Linked DNA regions of Homo sapiens: regions 1 and 3 are each linked to region 2. The links are contacts of gene promoters, found by promoter capture Hi-C in blood cells and fetal thymus (Javierre and others, 2016). All regions are on one chromosome and are shown on one strand. The core of a region is centred on a gene start or on the middle of the fragment in contact, and the rest is flanking DNA. Distances in the headings are between cores, read along the strand shown. Region 1 holds the start of DBT (dihydrolipoamide branched chain transacylase E2). Region 2 holds the start of VCAM1 (vascular cell adhesion molecule 1). Region 3 overlaps CDC14A (cell division cycle 14A).

What was found. Contacts are between HindIII fragments. The CHiCAGO score rates a contact against its expected background, and 5 or more counts as called.
Region 1: the fragment with the promoter of DBT here is called in contact with the fragment with the promoter of VCAM1 in region 2 in 2 of 17 cell types (naive CD8 T cells and total CD8 T cells); the score reaches 6.4 in naive CD8 T cells.
Region 3: a fragment that was not itself captured here is called in contact with the fragment with the promoter of VCAM1 in region 2 in 3 of 17 cell types (M1 macrophages, endothelial precursors and M0 macrophages); the score reaches 8.3 in M1 macrophages.

What each region holds. Positions count from the first base shown.
Region 1 is chr1:100,248,345-100,251,910 of GRCh38, forward strand. DBT (dihydrolipoamide branched chain transacylase E2) reads right to left here and starts at 1,490. Exons shown (of 11, transcript NM_001918.5): 1 at 1,426-1,490. The coding sequence starts at 1,476. RefSeq lists enhancers at 659-1,218, 1,219-1,778, 1,380-1,499 and a silencer at 1,610-1,709. The HindIII fragment of the contact is 8,889 bases long and covers 1-3,566 here.
Region 2 is chr1:100,717,885-100,721,241 of GRCh38, forward strand. VCAM1 (vascular cell adhesion molecule 1) reads left to right here and starts at 1,858. Exons shown (of 9, transcript NM_001078.4): 1 at 1,858-2,040; 2 at 2,592-2,867. The coding sequence starts at 1,977. The HindIII fragment of the contact is 1,026 bases long and covers 1,570-2,595 here.
Region 3 is chr1:100,461,634-100,465,235 of GRCh38, forward strand. CDC14A (cell division cycle 14A) reads left to right here. Exons shown (of 16, transcript NM_003672.4): 9 at 1,018-1,248. Among named protein-coding and RNA genes, the nearest start is that of GPR88, 75 kb to the right of the region's middle. RefSeq lists enhancers at 515-1,136, 2,415-2,504. The HindIII fragment of the contact is 1,174 bases long and covers 915-2,088 here.

The DNA of each region.
Region 1 (3,566 bases), core at 240-2,739, 470 kb before region 2:
CTCTGTATGCATGGATACTTAATTTCCTATTTATTGGTTGGGTTTTTAATTGCAGCTGGAAAACATCACGTACATATGAAACTGGAGATTTCCAGGACAGTAGGATATATGGGTTTGGAGTAGACCTGGTTGGAAGACTGGGGAACTTTAGGACTCATCAGCATAGATGGTAACTAAAGCCAAAGAGTGGATGGGATAACCCAGAAAGTGGGAAAAGTGCAGAGGGCCAAAGTCAGAGCCCTTTAGAAAAAGCAATATTTAAAAGGCGGGAAGGGAAACAGGATATTGGGATGAAGTGGCCAAAGATGAAGAAAGAATAATATTGGGAAACTGGTGTCACAGAAAACAAGAATGGAAAGCTCTAGAAAGAAGAGAGACCAATATGTGTTAAGTGTTGCTGAGAAGAGCTCTCTTCTCCTGGTTATCTCTTACTTATCCTTCTTACATCTCAAGTCATACAGTATCCTCTGGGAACTCCTCTGACCCCCAAGTCCACCATAGGTGTCCACTCCTGTGTGTTCCTGTAGTTCTAGGCACTTGTCCCATCACAGTACCTCTCATGCTGGGTTGTAATTTCTATCTGTCTCCCTCTCCTTTGTCCTCCACCACAAGGTTGTAATCTCTTGAGAAGGAAGATATGATGTCTATTTCATATTTGTATCTCCAGTGCCTAACACAGCACTGGTACATAGCAGGCTCTTGAAAGTTTTTGTAAGATCGGGGTCACCAAGGCAGGAGCATCTAGGGAAAGGGAGAAGAGGCAGGAAGAAGAAACACTAAGCAAATAGGGGTAACAAGTATCATTACCGGTATGTGTCAGTGCTTGGTGCTAAGACTGGGAGAAAGAGAAGGAAGTGCAGGGGAGATGGTGATGGGTCACAGCCTTGGTGACAAAAGGGTAGGAATGATATGTGGTGCGGACATAGAAGTACAAGGCAAAAGAGTGACGCCGAGCTGCTCAGTTCTTCGGAAGCAGGGACCCCTGCTGATATTCTATAACTTGAACGGCCTCTTCCTCTACACACTGTAGATTCCTTGAGGGTAGGGGTCGTGTTACCAGTGTTTGGCATACTGTGGGTACGCAATAAATGCTAAACGAATATATCTCTGGATCCACAGCGCCTATCACAATGCCTGGGCACCTGGAAGGCGCTCAATAAAACGCTAGCTGGGCCTCGGGGTACAGATGGAGCAGGACGGCTGAGTCGCTGCAGAAGCGCTTCCAGGTAAGGGGAGGGAGTGGGTTTCCACTCCAGACTGGTCGACTCGCTCCGTTCTCTGCCCTTTATTTTGCATGCATCCCTTCACCTCTCCATCACGCGTGCCCTGGACGCCTGGCACCGGAGGAGAAAGTAAAACACCACTCCTGGATGACTCCGGACAAATCACTCCTTCCCGGCCTCAGATCTGCCCAAACGTGCTTACCAGCTTCCCCGCATTCCTGCTCCAGGTTCTCAGCATACGGACTGCAGCCATCTTACCCCGGAAATGACAACAGTGCCGCAAACTGGAGAGACTCTCCTCGGCGCGGCCTATCAGGAGATGGGAAACGCGCCTCCCCCTGGGCGACCAATAGGGAGGGAAGAAACGAGCCTCCCACCCAACAGCCAACCAAGGAGTAGGGCGGAGCCTGAGCTAAACCCTAGGATCTGGGACCCAGCGGGGAGTGAAAAGAGCCTGGGGGACGGAGGCGGGGCAGAGGGCAGCCCAAATTTAACACTGCTGTGTAAATACAGATGCACCAAAGATAATCTTTTTAGTGTATGTGATGGGGAAAATAGAGAGTGTTAAGGAAACACAAAGAAAGGTACTTACCTCAAGAAAGTTATGTTGCAGTAGGACCTGAGCGATGAGTTGGAAAACATTTCCCCGTCTTCATCTTGTAGTGTAGCCGCCCCAAATACAGAAAATAGAATATTTCTATACGTTGTAGCAAGGCTCTGGACAACTAGTTGTTTCACAAGTCCATACAGCAGTACTTCCCAATGACTGCCTTTTTTACTCCCATTTATGTTTTTGATTACCAAAATTGGCTAATCAATTTTTTTCATGAAAGATGAACATTACCTAATGTCTAAAATAAACATGTTATCATCTTTCTTTTTACAGACTGCTATCAGATGCAGCTAACTAGCATATGCAATACATGTCACAGACACATGATCTTGATTTAGTTGTCTCTTAAAGAAATGTCAAATTCAGGTCAAGTGGAACTGGTAAAGAACAGATCAGAGCTTTCTTTTAAAAGGCAATCTTCCTCAGAGCAACTAGGAAACCAATTCCTGGAAATGTCCAGGATGACATTAGTCTGTTATTGCTTCTTACGTGGGAATGAAAATCTGCACAGATGTCTAAGGAATTACAGAGAAAAAAAACTGGAACAAATACATTTTAAATGCTCAACATTGAAGATTAGTGGTTATGAAACAAAATCTCAGGTATTTCACAACTTCATTGTTTAATATGACCCAAACACTTTTCCCCCTCATTTGCCATTTTATGTATTACACATCTACACACAAAAAATCAATGCAAACAATAAATCTTATTATCTTTTTTGTTTGTTTGTTTGTTTGGTAGAGATAGGGTCTCTTGGGCCAGGCGTGGTGGCTCCTGCCCATAATTCCAGCACTTTGGGAGGCTGAGGCAGGCAAATGGCTTGAGCTCAGAAGTTCAAGATGGGATCTCTCTATGTTGCCCAGGCTGGTCTCAAAGTCCTGGTCTCAAACTGCGATCTTCCCATTTCAGCCTCCCAAAGTCCTAGGATTACAGGCATGAGCCACTGGGTCCGGCCTAAATAGCTATCTTTCTCAGAAAATCTAGAGTAGTCAAAAGAATTTCAAGTTTTTACATTTCCTTAAAAATGTTTATAGACATTATTAATATATTTGATAATCCCACAAGCATGTGTTTGTATAAAAAGCAGTGGCAGTTGTACCTTTGAAGTGAATCATCTCCCTTCCAAGCTGCTGCTATACAACTTTCTTTGTCCTAATTTCGTTTTTAACTGTACCTGCTCCTCAGAAGATAACTAGTTTATTTTCCTTTACCGTCTTCTTATGTCAATGGATTCTTGCTTCTATATTCAGTATAATATGTGTCCTTATCTTTCATTCCAGCATCTGGAAAGAAATACACCATCTATTCCCTAGTTAATTCTTTTATTCGAGTTTGAAAGAAACAAAGACCCCATTTCTTCTCTTTTTTTAGATTTAAAAATGGCCAGTTATGACCCACCAATTCCACTCCTGGATAGCTACATAAGAGAAATGACAACAGTGTTCACACAAAGACTTGAATAGGAATAATCATAACAGCATAACAGCCAAAATCTAGAAACAGCCCAGATGTCCATTAACAGGTGAATAAACAAAATGTGGTACATCCATATTCTGAAATATTATTCATCCTTAAAAATGACTGAATTAGCGATAATTGCTATGACATGGATGAATGTCAAAAAAATATTATGCTAAGTAAAAGAATACAAGCACAAAAGATCACATATTACATTATTCCATTTAAATTAAATGTCCAGAAAATGTTGATTTATAGAGATGAAAAAC
Region 2 (3,357 bases), core at 608-3,107:
GTAGTGAGGCCACCGAGGAGGGTGCAATCCTCTCAACCTGGGAGGAGCAGGTAGGACTTCAGATGTCATCCAACTCAAAGATATAGTGAGGGACTTGATCAAACATTTGCCAAGACCACTATGAGTTAAATGAATAGATTAGGCATTTCTCCAATGTTGCAAGCTTCGAATCATATCCAAACTCAGAACAACATAGCTTGGTCATAATGATCCCAAGGATCCTATTGGCCATTGTCTTTGAGCCTCAAAGGAACATATTAAAACTCCATAATACCCTTTTGATCTATTCTGAAGTTAAGTAGTGAATTTACATGATGATGACACAAACACTGTAAAGGACCTCTGGGTTACTTGTTTATAAGCTAGTATTTCCTGAATCAATTTTTCTGATCCCTAGATATTTGGTAGGTGAAGTCATACCTATATATCCCCACACCCTAGAACAGCATCTCCAACTTATTTTTCCCTCCTTGTCTTTTAGTGGGAGCCACATCAGTATCCAAGAGGAGATCCAGAAGCCTCTCCAACCAGGTAGGGACAGTTATAGATTCCAGACCTCAGCTATGGCCTTTGTTACAGAGTACAAATGTTATATAGTACAAGTTTATTGTACACATCCCATTGAGTCTCTGAGCTTTAGAATTTTCTTGTAGAATTTAACAGTTTTTTCATGCCGTATTTACATATTATTGCTAGTATTTAGAATTTTCTTCTCCAAATGTATAACGTTTATTATTGCATTTTTTGTATCCACTAAGTGGAAAATCATGCATTAGATATTGTAGAAGTAGATACAACAATGAACAAGAACTGGTCCTGACCATGAGAGGAACTGATGATCCAATGGGGGAGATAGACCTGCACGTGTTTAATAAAAGGAAGTGGCTATTCCGGTTTCTTTTTGATGGGCAAGCATTTTGCAAGGCCTTGGGCTATGTGTGTGCAAGGCTAAGCCAGTTAGTTAATTGGGATTTTTTTAAAAAGGCACTTCACTGGGGGGAAAAGGAACATAGAGTTGGTTATTGTCCCCTTGCCTATAATAAAAACCTATTATTTTTAATTTTTTAACTGGGTTTGCGGTTAAATCTCACAGCCCAAGAGATTTGCCACTTCAGATGGATTCCATACACTTGCATTTAAGTATGCAAAAAAATTCCAATTATCCAGCAATTTAACCAAATTATTGGTAACTTTTCTAAAACAAAAAAAAATTGTTTCCCTTGTTTTGGCAGCAATTTCAGTTACAGTCCTTTACTTTCTACTCAAGAAAATAGTTTCAAAAAGTTGATGTTTGTTGCTAAAAGAACTATTTTTATGAATAAATATAAAACTAAGAAGTTATGGTGTCCCTTTTTTAAAAAATGACTCATCAAAAGAAATAACTTTTTCCTTTCTCTTGTAAGAGAAAAAAATTAATCTCTTTTAGAATTGCAAACATATTTCCTTGATGGAGAAAATCAATTCACATGGCATAGTCGTTATTTATCCAGTTCAAAAACCAGAGTAGAATTTACTACTCTGTCTCCATTTTTTCTCTCCCCACCCCCTTAACCCACATTGGATTCAGAAAGCTTCATTCTGCAATCAGCATTGTCCTTTATCTTTCCAGTAAAGATAGCCTTTTGGAGTCGAAGATGAGGAAAAGCCTGTATTTTATAGTCTTGGAAGTGTCTTCTTTTGCCAGGACAGAGAGAGGAGCTTCAGCAGTGAGAGCAACTGAAGGGGTTAATAGTGGAACTTGGCTGGGTGTCTGTTAAACTTTTTTCCCTGGCTCTGCCCTGGGTTTCCCCTTGAAGGGATTTCCCTCCGCCTCTGCAACAAGACCCTTTATAAAGCACAGACTTTCTATTTCACTCCGCGGTATCTGCATCGGGCCTCACTGGCTTCAGGAGCTGAATACCCTCCCAGGCACACACAGGTGGGACACAAATAAGGGTTTTGGAACCACTATTTTCTCATCACGACAGCAACTTAAAATGCCTGGGAAGATGGTCGTGATCCTTGGAGCCTCAAATATACTTTGGATAATGTTTGCAGCTTGTAAGTTATTTCCCTTCATCTGTTTCAAATGTTAGCATTCAATTTTAGCCCTGGTTTTGGCTTCAGTCAGTTTTGCGATAGTAGTGAAGTAAAGACACTAGGATTTTAAACAGTAGGAAAAGTTAATTTAGTCTAACTTTTAATATGCAATTGAGTTTTGCTATATACCATTGTACTGTCATAGTTAGAGCTGAAAATTGATGTTTTTGGTATCTTTTTTTCCAAAGGCAATTGAGTAATTTGGATTCTGTCTCTAGTCGGTCTGTCTCTTTAGTTTCCTATACTTGACAATGAGGTCAAACTTAGCAAATAACAAAACAGCTTTGATAAATGGGCATCAAGGTTGGAACTGAGAATTCTCTCTACTGAAGATGATTCCATAAACTTTTTTGGCAGTGACTTCGGTGCTTTTTGGCTACCTTGCAGTTAGTTTGAAGCAGCTTAGGAAAGAGATCAGTCTGATCATATTTTAGACATTATACAGAGAAGAAGGAGGAGAATACTAGACAAACTAGTGGTAAATTTGCTTCTGTCTTTTTTTGCTTTTGCAGCTCAAGCTTTTAAAATCGAGACCACCCCAGAATCTAGATATCTTGCTCAGATTGGTGACTCCGTCTCATTGACTTGCAGCACCACAGGCTGTGAGTCCCCATTTTTCTCTTGGAGAACCCAGATAGATAGTCCACTGAATGGGAAGGTGACGAATGAGGGGACCACATCTACGCTGACAATGAATCCTGTTAGTTTTGGGAACGAACACTCTTACCTGTGCACAGCAACTTGTGAATCTAGGAAATTGGAAAAAGGAATCCAGGTGGAGATCTACTGTGAGTGCTTTAGAAAATCTTTGTTTTTCTCTCAATTTTACTTTAAAATCACTTTTTAAAAATGATATTTTAAAAAAAGTTTTAAAATGGATATTCATGTACAGATTCTTGGCTAAAGAACATACAACATCAGGAAAGCTAGGGACAGCTAAGGCCAACATGAGAGAGAGCAGGAATCCAAATCTTGGCTTCTATTTCTACCTCTGCCACAAACACAGTGACCATGTATAAGACTCAACCTCTCTGGGCTCTGGTTTCCTTAGCTGTAAAATGATCATTTCTAAGTTTCTTTTTGTTTTATTAAAAAATATTTCCATTTGATTACATCCTTACATGTTTACTTGCTTATGTGTCTGATTGATTTATGAATTCCATCCTTCAGGGATTTTCTATTCATTTATTCTTATGCAATTTGATGCTTAAAATTAGTTTAAACATTAAGTAGATCTATAATTAGTAATATGTATTAGTATAAAAGTGTTCTTCTTAG
Region 3 (3,602 bases), core at 252-2,751, 260 kb before region 2:
GCCTTGGCTGATTAGCTAAGGCTAGGTCTGTAACCCAGCTGACTGTGTAGCTCCCAGGAATACTCACATGATGGTGGAGCCACTCAAAAATAAAAGGGGATTTAAAGGTGGAGCATCTTCCTCCCTCAAAAAAAGGAAGTGTCCACAAAAGTTATTGTTTATTTTTAACTAAAAAAATTTATATTTTAATTGATAAAAATTATATATTTATGGTGTACAACAACTTTTGAAATATGTATACATCGTAGAATGGTTAAGTCAAGTCTTACTTAAGTATTCACATATTTATCATTTTTTGTGGTGAGAAGACTTAAATTTTACTTTCTAAATGACTTTAAAGTATATAATACATTGTTATTATAGTCACTATGTTGTACAATAGATCTCTGGGACATACTCCTTTCTAACTGAAATTTTGTTTTCTTTGACCAATATCCTCCCAACACCCCCTCTTTTAGTTTCTTAATCTGTTAAATGGAATTAGCCATACTTAAGAGATGGTTTTGAGAATTTGAAATGATACGCAATTGTGACTTGTACATAGTAGGTGCTTAATAATAATTGCTTCTGGGGAGCATTGTACTACAAATTAAAACTATACATATGGCAAAAAAGCTTCAGCTGTAGTTGAAAACTGTTTGTCAAGTAGAGAATAAAGCTCAAGAGAGAATAAAGTCACCATTCTAGGTCTGTTATGCACATTTGATTACTTCAAGAATGCTTTTGTCTTGGGAGTGGGAAGAGTATGCTCCCAGGATTCGAATCTAGAGGTTGAGATTTTGAACTTTAATGATGTATTTTCAGTACTTACAGAAGTTTTCTTTTTAACCTCCTGTGGTGCTTACAGTTATGCAGATTGATGCTTGTAGGAGCTTGCTGTGACCTCTTCTCTCACACAACACACTTTCCTCCCAAGCTTTGTTGAGATTTATACACTTCATTGTTGAGAGTTTTGTATTTCTGGGTTGTGGAAGATGAAATGCATGCCTTTTGCTTACTGCTCCTTTGTTCCTTTAGGTTATCCTCTTCACGCCCCTGAAGCCTACTTTCCTTATTTCAAAAAGCATAATGTGACTGCAGTTGTGAGGCTAAACAAAAAGATTTATGAGGCAAAGCGCTTCACAGACGCTGGCTTCGAGCACTATGACCTCTTCTTCATAGATGGCAGCACACCCAGTGACAACATCGTGCGAAGGTTCCTGAACATCTGTGAGAACACCGAAGGGGCCATCGCCGTTCACTGCAAAGGTGTGTGCAAGGCCTCGGTGGTGGTGGCTGTGCTTATCGAAGGGGCGGGCCAAGGAAGAGCAAATAACATAAAACAAAACCTGTTTAGTGTCTTAGAAAAACAATGAGGTTTTAAATTTCAGACAACTGGGACACAAACTCATTTTAATAACCCCTTCTTAAAGAAACGATTGCTTGGGTGTGGACAATTGGTGGTGGTGTGGCTTTCTTGATATGCCAGTTTTTCAGACCTTACCTTTCCAGGCCCACGTGCCACAATGAGGGGAAACACAGTAGCAGTGTCTTTAGGCTGCAGGAACACCTTTAAACAGGTAAAATTCTCAAGAGACAAGGGTTGTTAGTTTTCCTCTCTCCTTTGTTTTTTTTCAGAATTGCCCATCTCTTCTCCATCCTCTTGCACTGTCGTGGTTCTGTTTTATGACCCAGTTATCTGGACCCCCATTCCAGTCTCTGCTTTTCCCTCCCCTCCTAGTCTTTGGCTTCATGGAGCAGAGCGTCTTCCATGCCTGTTGCTAGGGGCAATCCGCTAGCTTACAATGCTGCTGATGTGATGCTGCCTCATGGAATAAACTTAAAGAGTTTGTTTTGCAAAAATCTCTGATCTCTGGGGGTGGATACTTTGGGGCAGGAATTGTTCAGACTATAGAAGGTTTAGGATTGCCAGATTTAGCAAATAAAAATACAGGCTGCCTAATTAAATTTGAAAGTTAGATAAACAATGAATACTTTTAAAACAAAAAGTATAAATATGTCCCAAATATTGCAGGGAACATGCATTCTGTATTTTATCTGGCAACCCCATGTCAGCTACTCAGAAAATATGACATGCCATTTGCTCTAAGCTTGTTTGACTTCGAGGAGGCTTAAAATCCACTCCATTCCAGATCTTTCGGTATGGATAATACTGGAAATATTCCAGATATTTTACTGGGTCTTTGATTTCAGCGAGGAGAAATCACTAGGGCCGCCCTGGGCTGGAGCCTCGAGTTCCTCATGTGCAGCTCCTCCTAGTGTCGCTGGGTGGTGCTGTGCTTATGGTTTTGGGTCTAGACCCGGTTTCCCTCTCATTTTATGCTAATCATCTAGTAGGTGTTGGGGAGGGTGCTGTTCTTTTCATGTGCCTAGTGCTGCTGTAACTGACTTATTCAGACGAGTATGGCTTTGGTTCTGACAGAAATTAAAATGCCGTTTTGTAGGCCCTTGTTTCTATGTTTAAGATTTGAGTAGGTGGAGGTACTTTGTGAACATGTGAGCAAAAATGGGAAGCTGCGGTTTCCCAGAGACCCAGAGAGATGGAAATGAGCAGCACGTGGCCTGGGTTTGGAGCAGGGCTCCCCATGCCAGGCTCCCTCCTCCTGGGTGGGCAGAGCTCTCCCTCCCCACCCTCCCCATTAGCTAGCAGGATGGGCCCTGGCTTTGTGGGATATCTTGTCTCTGGCGTGGAGTCTGTTAGGAAGGTGTCACTTGCTGGCTCATTTGTGGGTGCTGCTTTCAGGCCACAGTGGGGTGCCAGTGTGTTGGCTTGTCCCCATGTGATTCATTTGCACCCTGTTTGCTTTTCCATTGCATTTTGTTCAGTATTGCCCAGGTCCAAGAAAAAGCCCACATGTCACGTATTTTAAACAGCAATAGAACTTGAGAGCTAATGGGAACGTTTATATCAACGTTTAGCAGGAGATAATCCTATCTTCTCTTTCAAACTTTAGTTTTGTGCCATAAAAATTGTATTTTTTCCTGAGATTAATTTGGCCTTATTTCTTAGTTCAAGTAGTTTTATTATTACTACGTCGTAGAGTTTATCTGTGGATTAGCCATCCGTATCTTGGATTGACACATTCAAAGGAGAAGAACTGCAAAGCTTTCATTAAAACTCAGTGTGTTTCTTGATAGTATTTCTCACCTGAGAGACCTTGTGCAAAGAAAACTCTCTGGTGTTAAACATTCTTATTACAGATATTTTCTCTATATCCTTGACCTGTGAATGTTTACCTTTTAAAAAATATATGTATTTATTTTATATTGCAAATTTCTTTTCTTTTCTTTTCTTTTTTTTTTTTTTTGAGACAAAGAGTCTCGCTCTGTCACCCAGGCTGGAGTGCAATGGTGCGATCTCAGCTCACTGCAGCCTCTGCCTCCCAGGTTCAATCAATTCTCCTGCCTCAGCCTCCCAAGTATCTGGAATTACAGGTGCCCACCACCACTCCTGGCTAATTTTTTATATTTTTAGTAGAGATGGGGTTCTGCTGGCCAGAACTGGTCTTGAACTCCTAACCTCAGGAGAATGTTGGCCAGGCTGGTCTTGAACTCCTGACCTCAGGTCATCCACCTGCCTCAGCCTCCCAAAGTGCGGGGAT